Linked DNA regions of Homo sapiens: region 2 is linked to region 1. Evidence: promoter capture Hi-C in 16 types of primary human blood cells and fetal thymus (Javierre and others, 2016). All regions are on one chromosome and are shown on one strand. The core of a region is centred on a gene start or on the middle of the fragment in contact, and the rest is flanking DNA. Distances in the headings are between cores, read along the strand shown. Region 1 holds the start of SEC63 (SEC63 protein translocation regulator). Region 2 overlaps SESN1 (sestrin 1).

The links. The method cuts DNA at HindIII sites, captures the fragments that hold promoters and counts their contacts. A CHiCAGO score of 5 or more calls a contact.
Region 2: a fragment that was not itself captured here is called in contact with the fragment with the promoter of SEC63 in region 1 in 1 of 17 cell types (fetal thymus); the score reaches 5.0 in fetal thymus.

The regions. Positions count from the first base shown.
Region 1 is chr6:107,955,684-107,962,217 of GRCh38, forward strand. SEC63 (SEC63 protein translocation regulator) reads right to left here and starts at 2,525. Exons shown (of 21, transcript NM_007214.5): 1 at 2,203-2,525. The coding sequence starts at 2,326. RefSeq lists enhancers at 1,964-2,565, 3,168-3,768 and a silencer at 2,188-2,727. The HindIII fragment of the contact is 6,986 bases long and covers 1,238-6,534 here.
Region 2 is chr6:109,006,498-109,012,679 of GRCh38, forward strand. All of the region lies in intron 1 of SESN1 (sestrin 1), which reads right to left. It also overlaps a transcript of ARMC2 not described here. Among named protein-coding and RNA genes, the nearest start is that of SESN1, 85 kb to the right of the region's middle. RefSeq lists a silencer at 2,804-3,183 and enhancers at 3,254-3,303, 3,314-3,433. The HindIII fragment of the contact is 2,351 bases long and covers 1,574-3,924 here.

The DNA.
Region 1 (6,534 bases), core at 1,275-3,774:
GAGACCAGCCTGGTCAACATGGTGAAACCCCATCTTTACTAAAAACACGAAAATAAGCCAAGCCTGGTGGTGCACGCCTGTAATCCCAGCTACTGGGGAAGCTGTGGCAGAACTGCTTGAACCCAGCAGGTGGAGGCTGCAATGAGTCAAGATCAAGCCACTGCACTCCATCCTGGGCAACAGAGTGAGACTCTGTCTCTAAATAAATAAATAAATAAATAAATAAATAAATAGTATGATTCTTCTATGAAATCAGGTGAATTTTATAATACGAAACTCACCATGAAAATATGACTTTCAAATTTCAAAAATCCATCCTGACACAGTGGCTCAAGTCTGTAAGGCCAGCTACTCGGGGGGCTGAAGCGGGAGGATGACTTGAAGCAAGTTCAAGACCAGCCTGGGTAAATGAGACTCTCCCCGCTTTAAAAAGAAAAAAAGAACAACTTTAAAAATCCAATGTAGATTAAAAAATGATGGCTAATTTCTGAAATCAGGGCAGTTTCTCAAAACACTTTTTTTTATACCTTTGTTCTGCCTGATCAAAACACATTCTGGCCAAACCCACCGACTACTCTCCCAATACCTTTTTGTTTTCTACACTACCAATTGCACACATAATGGCTGTTAGGTGAAAATAAACTACTGAAAAGTGTACCCTTTTAACTTGAAATACAACAACCACAAGAATGGCCTAGGTTTGCAGATAAGAAAAGCCATTACAGCATTAAGACTTCACTTATACACAATCACTGCCCAAAGAACCTACCCAATTTTTTTTCCTTTTTCAACATCGAGGAAGAACCTACACAATTTAAATGCACTTAGGAAATAAGGCACAACAGTCCAAGATCCAAATTTCATAAACTACCCATTGAGTAAAAAAAGTATTAAGACTAGTAACTTTGGACAGATTTTTGCATCTAATGGATTTTTAAACTTATTGTCAAACGTACAAAATGATGCAATCCTTTGTTACTATTTATCCTAAATTTATTTTAGTTCTATTCCAAGTCAAGAATGTTAGTTTCCTGCAGATCACATGGGGCGGGGGGGAAAAAGAATGTTACAGGACACTGAATCCATCTGAAAGTATAACAAGTTCTGAGCTGATTCAAGGCTTCACTGTTAACAACTTCTCCAAGTAGAGTATATAACCTGGACAACCTAGACCTCCAGCACACCCAATTGAAGAGAAGATATTTAAGCAAGTTAGCACAGCTCTTGTGCAATAGAAAGCTTTCCCTAAGTTGTTAATACTCAAAACCCACTCCTTACTGTTAACACTACCATAAATAACCCATTAGGCCCTCGCAGTTACATCAGCTTTAAGAATACCATCTGCCATATGTCCTAGTAGAGTGCAACAAATGGATGCAAACATTACCCAAACATCAAGTGAAATATGAAAAGAATCTGTTATTCTGTGCTTTAATTCGATGTTGTTTAATGTGAAAAGACTTAGAACCAAAAGTAAATCGACCCACTACCTCAAAATTCCCTACAAGATTAATTAAACGAGACTTAATCCTTCATACTTGCACTTTTTCCGTCACAAACAGGAAACTCCGAAGAAAAGGAAATAGAAAAAAGCCTATTTTTGCTAAGAGGAATAACGGCATTGCTTCCAACCCCCACAGTGAGTGAACAAATGAAAAAGCAACGGGAGGAAGTGACGGGGGTAGGCGGTGGAAAGCTCAATTGGAGTCCTAAGCATGCCACCCGGCTCAGAGATGCCCTAAAACATCTGTTAAGAGCAGCTGCAACAGGGAAACCGGAGTCGGGGGATGAGGGCCGCGAACTGGACGGACTGAGAGTTGTGCCCGCACGTTCAGTCTCTTCTTGGCCAACTCTTTGCTCACCTCCCAAGTCCCCATCCCGCTTCCTCCATAAAGAAAAATCCCCAATAAAAGCAAAGGCAGAGAAGACAAAGAGGCAGGAGGAGGCTGCAAGGAGCGTCCACAACAATGGAGAAGATGGAGCGAGCGAAACTCCTGAGGACAATGAAGGGAGGTGGAGAAGCGCCGAGGGAAACGCTGCTGACCCGGGCCCCGCCAGTGGCGGACGCTGGACACAGGCCGGGCCGCACCGTCCCTGTCATCCCGGACGCCGCGGGCTGGGGCCGGGCAAGCGGGCGCCGCAGGGCCTGGGGGCGCTGGCGGGGCCTGCGCGGGTTCGCGGGCAAAGGCCGGCGGGACTCACCGGCATTCTGATCTCGGGGCCAGAGGTAGTATGTCGCCGGGATCACGATGAGCCCCACGAAGGAGGTGAGGAAGTAGAAGAAGGTGTTCCCACTGTCATCGTACTGGAACTGCTGCCCGGCCATGGCACCCCCTCCTCCGCCTCGCTCTTCTCACCGCCGCCGCCACGACCACGCTCTGCACTCCCGCTCCCAACGCCCCGGCCCGAGTGGCGTAGCTTGGACACTGCCGCCGCCGCCTCTCCTCCCCGCCCCCACGCCACTCTCACGGACACGCCGCCGCCACCTCTGCCGCTGCCGCCGCCGTCGCCAGCTCTCGCGAGAGGAGATAGTTCCCGCCCCGCTCAGTTTTCCCTCCCCCTGCGTGTCCCCAGCGAGCTCGCTAAGGGAGACGTGGCGAGCGCAACGGTGGAACTCGGCGAGGTCTCGCCCTTAGCCCCGCCCTAACGTCAAAGCCCTCCCCCAACCCCTCCCCTAGGGTCCCGCCCCTAACCGCTCCGCCTTCCTCCACCGCTCAGTTTCCCAGCGCACCACGCCGGATTCCGGGCGTCGGCGTACAGGATCCCAGAGAAGGCTTCCCGCCGGAGCAGCGGTCGCGGGCGGTTCACCTGGCTGCGCAGGGGTCCCAGATATTCAGAGAAGAGCTGAGGCTCAGCCTGTCCTGCCCTCTGGATTAATTGCCCTGGTTGATCACGTTTCCTTGGGTTCTGGATCTGCTCCTCCAGCCCCCATATTTTGGAAACAAGTGTCATTTAGAATAGGGGGTGGGAGGCCGGGCACAGTGGCTCACGCCTGTAATCCCAGCACTTTGAGAGGCCGAGGCGGACGGATCATGAGATCAGGAGTTCGAGACCAGCCTGACCAACATGGTGAAACCCACTCTCTACTAAAAATACAAAAATTAGCCGGACGTGGTGGCGCGCGCCTCCATCTCAAAAAAAAAAAAAATTGGGGGATGGGGAGGTGTGGGTTGCGGGAGGTGTGGGTTGCAGTTGTGTTTTCAAAGCAATGTTTACTATCTGGCCGGGCGCAGTGGCTCATGCCTGTAATCCCAGTACTTTGGGAGACCGGGTGGATCATGAGGTCAGGAGTTCCAGACCAGCCTAACCAACATGGTGAAACCGCGTCTCTACTAAAAATACAAAAACTAGCCGGCTGTGGTGGCACGCGCCTGTAATCCCAGCTACTCAGGAGGCTGAGGCAGGAGAATCGCTTGAACCCGGGAGGCGGAGGTTGCAGTGAGACCGGATCGCTCTCCACTGGGCGACAGATTTGAATCTACGCTGTGCCCATCTTGCAGATGAAGATTTCCCCAAGCCGTTACAGATGGTTCCCTACCCATTCCAGAGCTGCTAATTATAACCACCAGCTTCAGGCGGTAGGCTGAGACCTTTATTGTTTTGTGTCATTTAGTCATCAGTAAACCCCATGGAATAAAGCAAAGTATGTCTGCTCTACAAATGAGAAAATTGAGGCCCAGAGAGACTGCCCAAGGTCCCTCACAGTAAAAGAATGTCTGAGGATTCAAACCCATATCATTTTGATGCCACAAAGCCAGTGTGCCCTTGACCCTCCATCGCCCAGGACCTTAAAATTTCCTGACAGTGACTGGCATTCTCCCTGCGGGTTGTGAACAGGAAACTGCATTTCAGGGATGGACGGTGGCGGGAGCAGTCGCTCTCGGGAGCCTCTCCTTCCCCTGGCTGTGGGACCCTAGAGGCTGGTGTCCGCTGAGCTGGAAACTGGACTTCTGCCCAGATCTTTGAACGACCCCACGGTCCAGCGGCAGCTGTGGCTGGGGTCTATCCCAGAGTCCATTGCCCCTCTCTGGGTTAAAAGGATAGCCCACCTGGTTGCAGAGATTGAAAGGACTAATTGTGAAAATGCTTTTCAAAGGAGAAAGTGTAATATGCAAATACCAAATATTACACTATATTTCAAGGACTCATTTTAATACTTTATACTCTGTTAACTAAATGCATTATAATATTCCTTCCATTGTTGGAGGAAAAATCTGGTTGCTCATTGTCTTTCATTTCATGTCTTCAAAACTAGTATCTTAATCAGTAATGCTTTCCTTCATAATAGATTGTGTTCATATGTATTCTCTCTTCCCTTCAAATTTCCTATCTACTCACTTTGAAAGGAAATTTCTGAAATTCATTTCTATGCATTTCCCTCCTCACTTTTTTTCTGCACAAAGTTCAAAACTATATTATAGGTGAAAAAATAAAACCAAGAAATGAAGGGAAGGTTGAACTATGAAATCAACATAGCATTGTGATCTCCCAACGCTGATATACCCAGAGTGAACAATTTGCCTTGCTACAGAAAATTAGTCACAGACTTGTTGCAGCTGAAGTGAGCAGGATCATGAAGTTCCTTTTGTTTGTTGAATATGTTATTAAGTCTTCCTCGGTTTTAATAATGTTGAACTGTTTTTTTATTACTCCTATTATGTTTTGCTGGGCATTTGTTTAAAGATAATACATCAGTTTTGTAACCTTGTAGCAATATAAGTTATTGATGATAAATACTCCCCTTCTTTCTTTCTGCAGGAATAATATTTTCACTGCAGCTTTGGGGTCATGCCTAAAAGTGGCTTGAACCAAATTGAAATAGCAATTTGAAAAAACCCCAGATCAATCTAAAATGTTATTTTTTTAACCAAAGCATGTTCAAGATTTGAAAATGTATCCTCTATTTTCAAAAGTATACATATAATTTATCCTAGAACTTAATATTACTGAACATAGATAACCTCAGACCACCCAAATATTCTCCAAAGCAAATCTTAATCATACCTTTAATTAATTTAATCGCAATTTCTGATTCACTTTTTTTTTTTTTTTTGAGACAGGGTCTCATTCTGTTGCCCAGGCTGCAGTGCAGTGGTGCATTCTTGGCTCACTGCAGCCTCTGCCTCCAGGTTCAAGTGATTCTCATGCCTCAGCCTCCCGAGTAGCTGGGACTACAGGCGTGCACCACCACACCCGGCTAAGTTTTGCATTTTTAGTAGAGACAGGGTTTCACCAAGTTGGCCAGGCTGGTCTCGAACTCCTGACCTCAGGTGATCCGCCCACCTCAGCCTCCCAAAGTGCTGGGATTACAGGCATTAGCCACCATGCCCAGCAGATATTTTTAACCTAATAAAATTGTTTCAAGAAATTATTTTAGTGAGATATTTAATAAAAGTAAATTAATATGGCTGGGTGCCATGGATCACATTGAAGACCAACCTGGCCAACATGGTGAAACCCTATCTCTACTAAAAATACAAAAATTAGCCGGGCATGGTGGTGGTGCCTGTAAGCCTAGCTACTCGGGAGGCTGAGGCAGGAGAATCACTTGAACCCAGGAGGCAGAGGTTGCAATGAGCCGAGATCATGCCACTGCACTCTAGCCTGGCCAACAGAGCAAGACTCCATCTCAAAAAAAAGAAAAATATGGAAGAAGCAAAGCTACAGACAAAACTTGTCTTTAGTCTAACAGCATATATTAAAAGGCATTTAGGCCTGTAATCCCAGGACTTTGGGAAGCCAAGGCAGGCAGATCACTTGAGGCCAGGAGTAAAAGACCAGCCTGACCAACATGGTGAAACCCGGTCTCTACTAAAAATACAAAAATTAGCTGGGTGTGGTGGCAGGCGCCTGTAATCCCAGCTACTCAGAAGGCTGAGACAGGAGAATCACTTGAACCCAGGAGGTGAAGGTTGCAGTGAGCTAAGATCGTGCCATTGCACTCCAGCCTGGGTGACACAGCAAGACCATGTCTCAAAAAAAAAAAAAAAAAAAAAGGCATTGGGCATTTTAGTATTTATGTCTGTAATTGAATATTTTAATCAATTTTGTTTTAATTGCTAGATAGACATTTTCCCTGTAGAAAGCCTGACTATTTTGGGGTTCCTTTTCATACTTTGCTTTTTCCTTAGAGTGAATCTTTCCTTCTTTGTAAGTCATCCTTTTTTTTTTAGACAGAGTATCCCTCTGTAGCCCAGGCTGGAGTGCAGTGGCGCAATCTTGGCTCACTGCAACCTCGCCTCCCCGGTTCAAGCAATTCTTCTGCCTCGGCCTCCCAAGTAGCTGGGACTACAAGCATGCACCACCACACGTGGCTAATTTTTTTTTTTTTTTTTTTTGAGACGGAGTTTTGCTCTTGTTGCCCAGGCTGGAGTGCAATGGCACGATCTTGGCTCACTGCAACCTCCACCTCCCGGGTTCAAGCAATTCTCCTGCCTCAGCCTCCCAAGTTGCTGGGATTACAGGTGCCTGCTACCACGCCCAGCTAGTTTTTTGTATTTTTAGCAGAGAAAGGGTTTCACCATGCTGGCCAGG
Region 2 (6,182 bases), core at 1,499-3,998, 1.1 Mb after region 1:
TCCAAGGAAAGCCCTGAGATTTGAACCCAAGTATTCTAGCTCAGTCAGTACTAGTGAGTGGTGGAGACGGGGGCTGAATCAATGACATCTGGTTCTAGAGTTGGTATCTTTCATTATTATTCTTTTGAGCCTCTTTAAGACTTCTTGATACCTTGGAGATTCTTACAGATACCACTGTTATTATACAGTAGTAGTCTTGGTTTATAAAAAGTTTCCATTTTCTGGAAAACTCACTTTTGAAACACTTCTTGGTCACATGTTAAATTGGTTACAACTCTTTTCTAGTAGATGCTGATCAAAAAAGGCACTGCGGGTGTTCAATGGGGTGATCATAAGCCAAACTAAATACATTTCATAGCTTCCTATTTAGGTTAATTCAATTATTCCTTCATCTGTAGCTGTAAGAAACTTAACTACAGACTTTGAACAAATTTTGGCCAATCCAGATTCTAGGAGACAGAACTGCCACCAACAAATGGCCTTGTTGAAAAGCAGATGTAGATACTAATCACAGCACTAACCTCACAGGCTCTCTGTGAAGGTGTGGCTGGAAGATTAACATGAGAACAATCTTTTCCCCTCAACAACCTAATAACCATCTTTGAAAGAGACAACAAGTTTCCACCATCACAATATTACTTCTGATGTTTCCTCAATGTATAATGCAAAACACTAATTTTCAGAGTGAAAATTCGTAGTGAATGTTGACAGTAGTACCACAGAAAGACTATGTTTTTATTGTATCACTGTATGAATCAATGTTTGTGTACTGAAAAGTACTGTTCCAGTCAGATGTTTCAAATTTGTGAGATACATTTATGCATCTGTATCAATATCCTTAAGTGAAATAATGAATGAATGACAAGTGCAAAATGAAAGCATTGTTGGCTTACAGTATCTACCCACCTGCAAAATTAGTTGAGAAGTAAAAATACACAAATAATTTGAATCATTTTGTTTTCCTCGCTACACTATTACTGTTGTGATTATCACAACATTCACAGTAATTTTATTTTTTAAATTCAAAAGCAGCATGTGTTTTTTGAAAAACATTTCAACAAGGTAAAGATATGTTATATAAAAAGTGAAAGTTCCCATCCCACTCGCCCTTCTCTGGGAGATTGCCTATAGCTGGGTGCTGGCCTTTCGACATTCAAAAAATTTAAATAGAAATGGAGAGATCTAGAAGTGTTAGAAATATGCCTACTATAGCAAAATGTACTAACAATTATGTTAATATTGTCATTAATACTAATAGGTAATTCAGAAATACTGAAAGTCCAGGTACTTTTTTTTTTTTTTTTTTTTGCCTTCTATGAACTATATTTTAGAAAAAAAACTTACTGACTTTAAGTTACTGCATTTGTAATACTTAGGCCATATTTGTGCCCTATACTTTGCTCAGGAGTTCCGTTTCTTGAAAGTGTTTAATTTAAAAGCATTATGGAAGCTAGCTATTTGAAAGAATTGTGTTATTCTTTTTGTAAAGTGAATAGTTTTCCTATAAAGCATTCCTTCCTAAGTTATCTTCTCACATGTTGGGATGTATTAAAAATGAAATACAACTATACAAAGCTTCCCGGTTTCCTCAACACAATCCCATAAGCGCTGTAACAATATGCAAGCCAAAATCTATTTCTTTATCTTTTAGTTTACAAAGCTATCTTTAGAAATTCTAGATCTGAGCAAGAACCAGGACTCTGCACACAAACATCAGCAGAAATAACAGATCTATTCAAGCATGATGATTGGGGCTCACTTCTACTCAAAAAGAGAAAAGATCTATTATGACCCGCAAACAGAAACTGTAAATGTTAATTCAATACTTTCATACTGTTTTCACTTTTTGGTAAAGTTTCCAAAGCGATACTGTAAGAGATTTTTAAAGATTGTTTTATTATCTGTAAACAAGGAACATCTAATATGTCCATAAATGTTAAAATCTCAAAAAAATATTTGGTGCTTTACAACCTTCATGACAAAGTGTCTTCATTTAAGTTTCTATGAATATACATAGTATACTGATAATAGACTCCATTAAAGAAATCACGAAACCACGTCATTTTAGTGAGTAAAGCTGCAGAAAAAATAATTCACATTTAGATTTCTTGAACTAAGGCAACACTCTGACAGCACCTGATTTCAATCCAAATTTAAGGTTCGAGTTTTACCTAAGGTTACATTAGTAACTTTCAAATGGTTTCCTATTTGCAACCACTTAGAAAAAAACACAAAATGTTACAATTAAGTACCTCTTTCTAAAGGACAATTCAGAAAAGGGATGGCTTAATACGCAAGAGTAAACGCTGTGCATAACGTCATAGAGCTTGCAGGACACACTTATTCCAGGCAACATCATCTCTTCCCTGAGTCAAATGTGTTTTTTTTCTTTCTCTCTCTTTTAAGTAGGAGGCAAAGGGGATGAAGGTGGCTAAATAATCTGTTTTCACAAGACAAGACAATCGAGGGGGCATATCCACAGGCTGTTTCACCCTCAAGACTCGAGGTCTGCTGGATTTCTGACTTGTGGAGACTTGTCCAGACGACAATGTTATTTACGTATTGGAGACTTTCATTTACATGACCGCGGCCGCAGTCTCTCCCAGCTTAGCATTTTCTGCCCAGGGACGACTCACGGTGCGCAGGTCTCCCACCCACCGCAGGCAACCCCTTCCCCCGAGGGGCGCAGGAGGGCCGGGACGCTGCTCCCCGGGAGCCCGCCCTATCTGGGGAGCGTTTTCGGATGCTGACCGGGAGCGACTGTGAGGAGGCAACGTGACCTCCGTGTTGCACAGGGCAGCTCGGCCGGGTGCCCACCCGCCCAGGTACCCAGCGGCCCGCTCAGCCCCTCGCCCAGGTACCTCGTCCTGGTCGCGGCCCCCGCCGCACTGCTTGCAGCCCAGCAGCCCCGAGACCGCCAAAGGGGCCGTGTACGCCTCGTTCGCGGCGGCGGCCAAGCGCATGTCGGCGCGGGGACGGCTGCGGACGCGCGGAGGCGGCGAGCGCTGGGCAGCCGGCCGCGGCTCCTGGCTGCAGCGCCTCAGTCAGCACGGACGGCGGGGGGGCGGGGCGGCGCCGACAAACAAGCCGCGCGGCCCCGCCCCGCGCCCGTCATTTCACCGCCCTGGCGGCCACGCAAGCCAATGCGGGCTCGCGTCCCCGCAAAGCACCGCCCCTCCGGCGCGGAGGCTGGGAACTGGCGGTCTGACGCGGCGAGGTGAAAAATCACCTTGGGGGCCCAGGTTCCCCACGAACAGCTAATTCTCAGGTACGGAATGGGCTCTGGAGGGCCGCGAGGTGAGCGTGCACTGTCAGGAAGGTGCAGCACGAGTCTTCGGGCTTCAGGGACAGGGGAATCTGCCCCCTACACCCCTGCTCGGCCATTTACCTAGAACCAAACAGCAGCCAACCTCGAGACTGATTCTGACAGCACCAGGAGTAATGAAGTTCTCTAAATTCGATAAACTATTGAAATTTCCCTTCTTCCTTTCCCATAATGCCCAAACGACGCTGAATCGGCAGCAGAATGCAGGACTTTGGCCTATAATCAATGCAAAATTCATTTTGCTAAGCTACGTAAAAGCTATAAATATCACTCCCCTACACAGATAATAAACCTTGGTAGCCTATCTCTGAATCGTCTTTTTTCCTCTCAAGTATATTCGAAGGCTTTACAATTTCTAATATTCCTTCATAAGCGCCCTCCCTGGGTTATAAAGACAGAATTTCAATCTCTGAAATCGGATGAGGAACTTGGGAAAATACAGGTTACAAAGGAGAAAAACAACTGACATTGTTGGGCCCAGAACCCAGATCCCTCCAGTCCTGTGTCAGTACTATTTCTTTACATAACTCTATTCTCTCTCTTTAAAAGAAACAAATTCCTAAATTAGATCTCTTTTTGCATGTTTATGCTGTTTTCAAAGCTTAAGTGCTCAGGTTAAAAAACAAAAAAAGTTGGAACATTCTGACAAGGAAACAAGTGGAATTTATAGCAGTAGTTATGGCCACAGAACAGGACTCATAAATGAAAATAAGTTTCAGTCTTAGAAGTGACGCTACCGTGTCTCAGTGAAAACTAAGTTACTCTTTTAGCTCTTCAACTATCATGTTTAAAGTGGCATGTCAAAATGGTTACTTTTTATTTATCTCCTAATAAATAAGATAAATGATATATGTTCTCTATACTGCTTTTAAAAAATAGCTAATGCACCCAAAATATTTTTTACTGGTCAAAAGAAGCAATATTGAGTTAATGTCGATATAGAAGAAAAGGCTACAGAGGCTTCCAAGCTCTCATCCACTGAGCACAGCCACAAAAACAAACAGTACAATCAAATGCCCACTCAGCCGTAAGCAAATACAAAAACAAAACAAACCCAGTACATCATGCAATTTGCAGCAATATGACATACCCTGCAAGATAAACTGGTTGTAAATGAATGAGTTGGACACATAAATGCACTTGATGTATGGGATTGTGAGCTGCAAAAGCTAGTTAGGTAGAAGTATGTGAAAAATGATGACTCTGGTTCTAGAAGAGTTGAGGTATGATTTTATTTCTGAAGGAATCACAGTTTTAGTTGTCTAGTAGGGCATAATCTTAGTTATGACATTTGTAAAATGAAGAATGCTTATCTTTCCATTTTCTAATGAGAGGCAAGGGAAAAGCATGCATTCAGTTAAATCAAAAGTGGCTTAAAATAAGTAAATGCAAGTGAAAACTGCTAACTGCATGCATATAGTAGGCTGATACTTAGTGCTTGATAAATATTTATTGAAGAAATATTTCAGATATACTGAAATTGTATAGGAAGCTCCAATTAGGATTCCTTTTTCCCCCAGATAGTTTCAAATTATTATTTAATGCTGCCTTATGTGAAAAGAAAAATAATTTTAATTTAATATTCTAATTTAGTGGTTTATGGAGAACCTTCAAGCCATTAAATGTCAAGATTCCTTTATGGTCTCTATAAAGACTGACCTAAATTCCTCAAAGAGTACTAATTTCTTGTTCTCTGCTATAGAGCACTAGAGTGAATTAGTCACTCTATTCTCCAACATAAAAAGGTTGCCTCCAAATAAATTTACAGTAACCAAGAGTTCCAACAAATGTATTTTTAAAATTTTTTTTCTTTTTTTTTTTTTTTGAGACAGAGTCTCGCTCTGTCAGCCAGGATGAGTGCAGTGGCATTATCACAGTTCACTGCAGCCTTGACCTCCAGGGCTCAAGTGATCCTCCCACCTCAGCCTCCTGAGTAGCTGGCACTACAGGCAGAGGCCACCACACCCGGCTACTTTTTAAATTTTTTGTAGAGATAGGGTCTCATTATGTTGTCTAGGCTGGTCTCAAATTCCTGGACTCAAGCAATTTTCCCGCCTTTGCCTCCCAAAGTGCTGGGATTACAGGTGTGAGCCACCACACCCAGCCCAATAAATGTATTAATTAACCTGCATCTATCATTGTGCAGATTTAACTTTTGAAATGTTTTGTTTCAAACAATTCAATAAAAAGTATTTTCCAAGGATTTCGAAGGTAGGCCTGATGTTCTGAAGGTGCTGCTCCTCTCAACCTCTAGGGCTGAGCACATACAGGCATGCGATAAACATCTGCTGAAAAGATGAACATCCTGAACACAGAACAGTGATTACAAAGGGCTGTGTTTTTGATATTTACCACAGGTTGTCAGTACAGGCCAGAGCTACCTTACAAAGTCTGCTATTTAAACATTTAATTTTGATATTTCTTTTTTTTTTTTTTTTGAGACGGAGTCTCGCTCTGTCGCCCAGGCTGGAGTGCAGTGGTACGAACTTGGCTCAGGAAGAATCCTGACATTTAATCCAAGAAGTAATAGTAATTCTGAAATATTTCCTTTCTTTTAAAAAGATTTTGGTCAACTTACTCAACTGTATCAAAGTGAGGTTCATTGCCTCTACATCTGTCCTTAGCAGTAATGCACTCAGCCTTATTTTTCTGAAGAGCAAGCTGATAATCTATGTAAAAGCAGAGTGGTGTCAAATGACTTGATTTTAACAGAGAACTATGAAATATTAGGGGACTCTGCACTTGGAATGGTGGTTCAAGATAGGCTTCCTGAAGGAAAAAGACACCTGAGCTACAGCTTAGAGTATTAGTAGAGAGGCCTTGGAAAGAAAATTTGGGGGAGAGTTTGGGAGAATAG